Regions from separate parts of the Homo sapiens genome. Here region 1 is linked to region 2. The links are contacts of gene promoters, found by promoter capture Hi-C in blood cells and fetal thymus (Javierre and others, 2016). All regions are on one chromosome and are shown on one strand. The core of a region is centred on a gene start or on the middle of the fragment in contact, and the rest is flanking DNA. Distances in the headings are between cores, read along the strand shown.

What was found. The method cuts DNA at HindIII sites, captures the fragments that hold promoters and counts their contacts. A CHiCAGO score of 5 or more calls a contact.
Region 1: a contact is called between a fragment that was not itself captured here and the fragment with the promoter of WDR25 in region 2, in 8 of 17 cell types (endothelial precursors, M0 macrophages, naive CD8 T cells and 5 more). The highest score is 9.4, in endothelial precursors.

What each region holds. Positions count from the first base shown.
Region 1 is chr14:101,655,686-101,658,385 of GRCh38, forward strand. All of the region lies in intron 1 of LINC02320 (long intergenic non-protein coding RNA 2320), which reads right to left. Among named protein-coding and RNA genes, the nearest start is that of LINC00239, 73 kb to the right of the region's middle. The HindIII fragment of the contact is 3,632 bases long and covers 1-2,700 here.
Region 2 is chr14:100,375,132-100,377,948 of GRCh38, forward strand. WDR25 (WD repeat domain 25) reads left to right here and starts at 1,354. Exons shown (of 7, transcript NM_001161476.3): 1 at 1,354-1,364. WARS1 (tryptophanyl-tRNA synthetase 1) reads right to left here and starts at 216. Exons shown (of 11, transcript NM_004184.4): 1 at 152-216. RefSeq lists enhancers at 168-307, 318-677 and silencers at 1,188-1,247, 1,438-1,487. The HindIII fragment of the contact is 16,259 bases long and covers 1-2,817 here.

The sequences.
Region 1 (2,700 bases), core at 44-2,543, 1.3 Mb after region 2:
CATAGCTACAGAAGAGAAGTCAATGCTGGCTTGAAACATCAAAGGACACGCTGACACTCTTGGCAGGGGCTAATGCAGCTGGTGACTTTGAGTTGAATCCGGTGTTCATTTACCATTCTGCAAATCCTAGGGAATTATGCTAAATCTACTCTGCATGTGTTCTCTAGATGGAACAACAAAACCTGGATGACAGCACGTTTACAGCATGGCTTACTGAATACTTTAAAGCCACTCTTGAGACCCATGCTCAAATTTCTCTCAAAATATTACTGTTCATGACAGTGCCTGTAGTCAACCAACAGCTCTGATGGAGGTGTACAAGGAGATTAATGTTTTTATGCCTGCTAGGACAACGTCCATTCTGCAGCCCATGAGTCAAAGCGTAATTCTGACTTTCAAGTCTTGTTATTTAAGAAACACGTTTCATAACACTATAGCTGCCGTAGGTATGCTTCCCCTGATGGAGCTAGGCAAAGTAAATTGAAAACTTTCTGGAAAGAATTCACAATTCTAGATGCCATTAAGAACATTTGTGATTCATGGGAAGAGGTCAAAATAGCAGCATTAACAGGAGTTTGGGCGGGCACAGTGGCTCGTGCTTGTAATCCCAGCATTTTGGGAGGCTGAGGAGGGCGGATGGCTTGAGTCCAGGAGTTTGAGACCAGCCTGGACAACATGGTAAAACCCCATCTCTACTAAAAATGCAAAAATTAGCTGGCTATGGTGCCGTGCACCTGTAGTCCCAGCTACTTTGGGGGCTGAGATGGGAGGATTACCTGAGCCCAGAAGTCGAGGCTGCAGTGAGCCAAGATCACACCACTGACCTCCAGCCTGGGTGACAAAGTGAGACCTTGTCTCAAAATAAAACAAGAGTTTGGAAGACGTTGGTCCCGACCCTCATGGATAACTTTGAGGGGTTCGAGACATCAGTAGAGGAAGGAACTGCAGATATGATAGAAATAGCAAGAGAACCAGAATTATAAGTGGAGCCTAAAGATGTGACTGGATTGCTACGATCTCATGAGAAAACTTGAACAGATGAGGAGTTGGTTCTTATGGCTGAGCAAATAAAGTGGTTTCTTGAAATGGAATAACTCCTGGTGAAGATGCTGTGAACACTGTTGAAATGACAACAGAGGATTTAGAATATTCCATAAACCCAGTTGATAAAACAGTGGCAGGCTTTGAGAGGACTGACTCCAATTTTGAAAGTTCTACTGTGGGTAAAATGCTGCCAAATAGCATCACAAGCTACAGAGAAATCTTTCATGAAAGGAAAAGTCCATCAATGTGACAAACTTCATTCTTGTTTCATATTAAGAAATTGGGCCAGGCACAATGGCTCATGCCTGTAATCCTAACACTTTGGGAGGCCAAGTGGGGAATATCACTTGAGGCCAGGAGTTCCAGACCAGCCTGGACAATAAAAAGAGACCTTGACTCTACAAAAAAATTAAAGAAATCAGCCAGACACAGTGGCACATGCCTGTAGTCCCAGTTACTCAGGAGGCTAAGGTGGGAGGATCCCTTGAACCCAGGAGTTTGAGGTTGCAGTGAACTATGATTGTGCCACTGCATGCTAGCCTGGGTAAAGAGTGAGACCCTATCTCAAAAAAAAAGAAAGAAAGAAATTGCCACAACCACTGCCAGTAACCACCACCCTGATCAGTCAACAGCCATCAACATCAAGGTAAGATCCTCCACCAGCAAAAAGACTATGACTTGCTGAAGGCTCAGATGATAGTTAGCATTTTTAGCAATGAAGTATTTTGAATTAAGATATGTACATTGCTTTTTAGATATCATGCTATTGCACACTTGAAAGCTACAGAATAGGGTAAACATACTTTTATTTGTTCAGGGAAACCAAAAAAATCATGTGACTCACTTTATTGCAATATCCATTTTATTGTGGTGATCTGGAACCAAACCCACAATACCTCAGAGGTATGCCTGTATTGATATGACTTGAATCATTTTAAATATGTTGAGATTTGTTTTATAGCTCACAATATAGTCAAATATGGTAAACATTCTGTATTTTTAAAAAAGTGTGTCCTCCTGTTGTTGAGTAGAGTGTCCTATAAATGTCAATTAGTTCAAGTTATCAATAGCATTGTTCAAGTTTTCATATTCATACTGACTTTCTATCTAATTGCTCTCAAAAATTATTGAAAAAGAGGTATTGAAATCTCTGATTTTCACTGTGTCTATTTCTCCTTCTGGTTCTATCAGATTTTCTTCATGCATTTTAGAGCTCTTTTGTTAGGTGCATTAACATTTAGAATTGTTTTTGTTCTCTTGGTGAATTGAAATCTTTATCATTATGAAATTGGCTTCCTAGCCATTTGTGGTGGCCCACACCTGTAATCCTAGCACTTTGGGAGGCTGGGGTGGGTGGAACACTTTGAGCTCAGGAGTTCAAGGTCAGCCTGGACAACATGGAGAAACCCTGTCTCTACAAAAAATACAAAAATGAGCCAGGCATGGTGGCTTATGCCTGTGGTCCCAGCTACTCAGGAGGCTAAGGTTGGAGGATCACTTGGCTCGGGAAGCGGAGGTTGCAGTGAGCCGAGATGGCAACACTGCACTCCAGCCTGGGTGACAGAGCGAGACCCTGTCTCAAAAAAAAAAAAAAAAAAAGAAAGAAAAGAAAAGAGGAGAGAGAGAGAGAGAGAAAGAAATTAGTGTCCTTATCCT
Region 2 (2,817 bases), core at 104-2,603:
GTGAATCACCTGAACTTTGGGTCAATGGAAGAAGTAAAATGCATAACACCCTAATCCTAAGACACAAGTCCTGACCCCCTAAACCAAGGTTTTCAGCACTTTGCTAAAAACACGAACAAGCTCTAAGCCTGGCAAAGATGGCAATACATACCCAGGTTGTGGAAGACACTGCAGAGGTGGCCACTGGTCACGCTGGGCAGTTGAGCTGCTGAGAGTGCCCTGCCCAGCCAGAAATGGTCTTTAATACTCTTCCCCTCTTTCTTTCAGTTTCCCTTCTGAAAAAAGATGCTTTTGTCTTTCGTTCTCCCCACCCTGCATTCAGCTAAGGGTTTCTTATAAATCACCCAGATTCTCAGAAACACTTGAGCTCTTGACCAACCTTCTTGATGAGACTGTCCAATCAGGGGTGGGTTGCCTGGGGGGCCAGGTTGAGACCAATGAAACCCTCTTGAGAATCGAGCCATTAGCTGGTCATTGCATCAGCCACCCCTCACCCCCCGCTGGCCTCCAAATAACCTCCCCACCCTCTTCCCGTTCCCCACCCTCAGCGTCAGTGTGACTGATTTTGTGTAGTCGTGGGCGGTGGAAAGAGAAACTGTAAATTCCCCGCATCTGTTCACCGAGGCGGCACAGTGCAGTGGAAAGATCAGGAGTTCTGGGGTCACAGACGCCTGGGTTTCAATCCCAGCTTGGACTTATTCGAAACCTTGGGCAAGGGTCGCATTACTTTTCTGCTTCCCCTTCGGTTTCCTCATCTGTGGAATGGGCATGGAGAAGCCTGCTAACATTACCGTTGAGGGGACTAAGTGCAACACTACGCAAAGCCTCTGGCACATGGCAGGCGCTAAATAAAAATGGGGGCCTCTCTCCTCGGGAAAAGCGAACAGGCGGAGACGATGAAGGGTGCCAGTGGGAAAGGGAGACGGGGTGGGTCGGCGGCGCTCAGAGGAAAGGGGCGAGGGGTCGGTGGCAGGCTCCGCGCCTCACAGTGCCAGAACGCGGCGGGCAGCAAGCCGGGCTCTAAGGATACTCCCGGGAGGGCCAGGCCACTGGGCGCCGCGCCAGCGTCCCTCCATCACTCCCTCCCTTGTTTCCTCACTCCGCCCCGGCCTTACTCCCCTCGCTTACCCTGCCCAGCCGGGCCAGTCAGCGCTCCCGGCTCAGCAACCGGCTGTCTCCTGGGCGTCCGTGGAAACGCCGTCCGGACGGAACAACTTCCGGCCCGACGGCGCCGTCATTGGCTGTTCGCGCGGGGGCGGGGCAGAGGCCGCCACTGATTGGCTGGCGGCCGCGGCGTCGCGTCGGAACGTGACTGGATGGTAGTGTGCTGGCCGGTCTGCCTCCGGGAGAACCGAGCGCTTCCGGTGCGTGTGGTGAGCGGCGGGCCCCGGGCTGGAGGGGCCGGGACTGGGCAGCGCCTAAAGCGCCCCGTGCCGCTTAACGCGGTCTCTCATAGCCGCTCGCCTTCCTTTCACTTCCTGTTCCTTCAGAAAGCGCTGTGCCTTGGACCAACCTTACTTCTTACTATTGACAGCTCAGCTAACTCCTATTCATCCTTCAAAACCCATCTCTGGTCGTATCTTGTTTGTTGCTTTCATCGCTCTGGGGCCTCCGGGGGGATCTGTGTTTTGTGTTTGATTTCCACCCACACCAGACCCAGCATAGGGCTTGACAAAGAGTACGTAATCAGGAAATGTTTGTTGAATGGGAATATCCTATTTCTTTTACTTCCTAGCATCTCCCCCTCCCACCCGTTTGCATTCCAGAAATATTTTTAGACGCTGGGCATTGAATAGTGAACAAAACACAGAAAGTCCTGTCCTCATGGGGCTGACTTGCTGATAGTGACTGTCAGAGTCACTCGCTCCTTCCTTAGACTCTTCTCCAGTGTCCCTGCCTTCCCTTCCATCTTACTGTCTGTTCCTCTTCGTTTAATCCCTCATCTCCTTCCAGAGGGAGCACGGGCACCCTGGTGGTGGGAATCTGGGTGCATGGTGGGTGGTGCCTGGGCAGAGGAGTTGAGAGTGGCCTCGGGACCAGGCTTAGCATTTAGAGAACAGAAATGCCAAATTATTTGCAGTGCACGGTTCCATTAGTTTATAATTAGTCTTTCATATTATATTAGTTCCATTGGAGATGAGCTGGCTGGCTGGCTTTAGAAGTTGTTGTTGTTGTTGTTGTTTTTTGAGACCAAGTCTCGCTCTGTAGCCCAGGCTGGAGTGCAGTGGCGTGATCTCCACTCACCGCAACCTCCGCCTCCCGGGTTCAAGCAATTCTGCGGCCTCAGCCTCCAGAGTAGCTGGGATTACAGGCGCGCACCACTGCACACGGCTAAATTTTTTTTTTTTTTGTATTTTTAGTAGAGACGGGGTTTCACCATGTTGGCCAGGCTGGTCTTGAACCCCCGACCTCAGGTAATCCGCCCTTCTCGGCCTCCTACAGTGCTAGGATTACAGGCGTGAGCCACCGCGCCCGGTCGTTTTATTTAAACTCTGGCTTTGCGTGTGGAAGTTGTTACCTGCCTGGAATGGGCTGCGAACGGGGGCGGCATTACTAGAGGAGGCTGACTACAGACATTTATGGAATGATGACCTGACTTGTAGACCAGTGGAACCCTCAGGCGAATGATGCCACTTGGGGGAAAGGTGTGGAAGAGGTTGGGTGGTTGATTCCAGGGGACATAGAAACCCATTGTCTAGAAGAAGAGATGGGTAATAGGCTGTCTGGAATGACTTAGAAAAGGACTTGGAGGGAATCTGTTGATGCTGACCTGACTCCACCTGTTGGGGGATGGAGGCGGAGCTTGGCGTGTTTGAT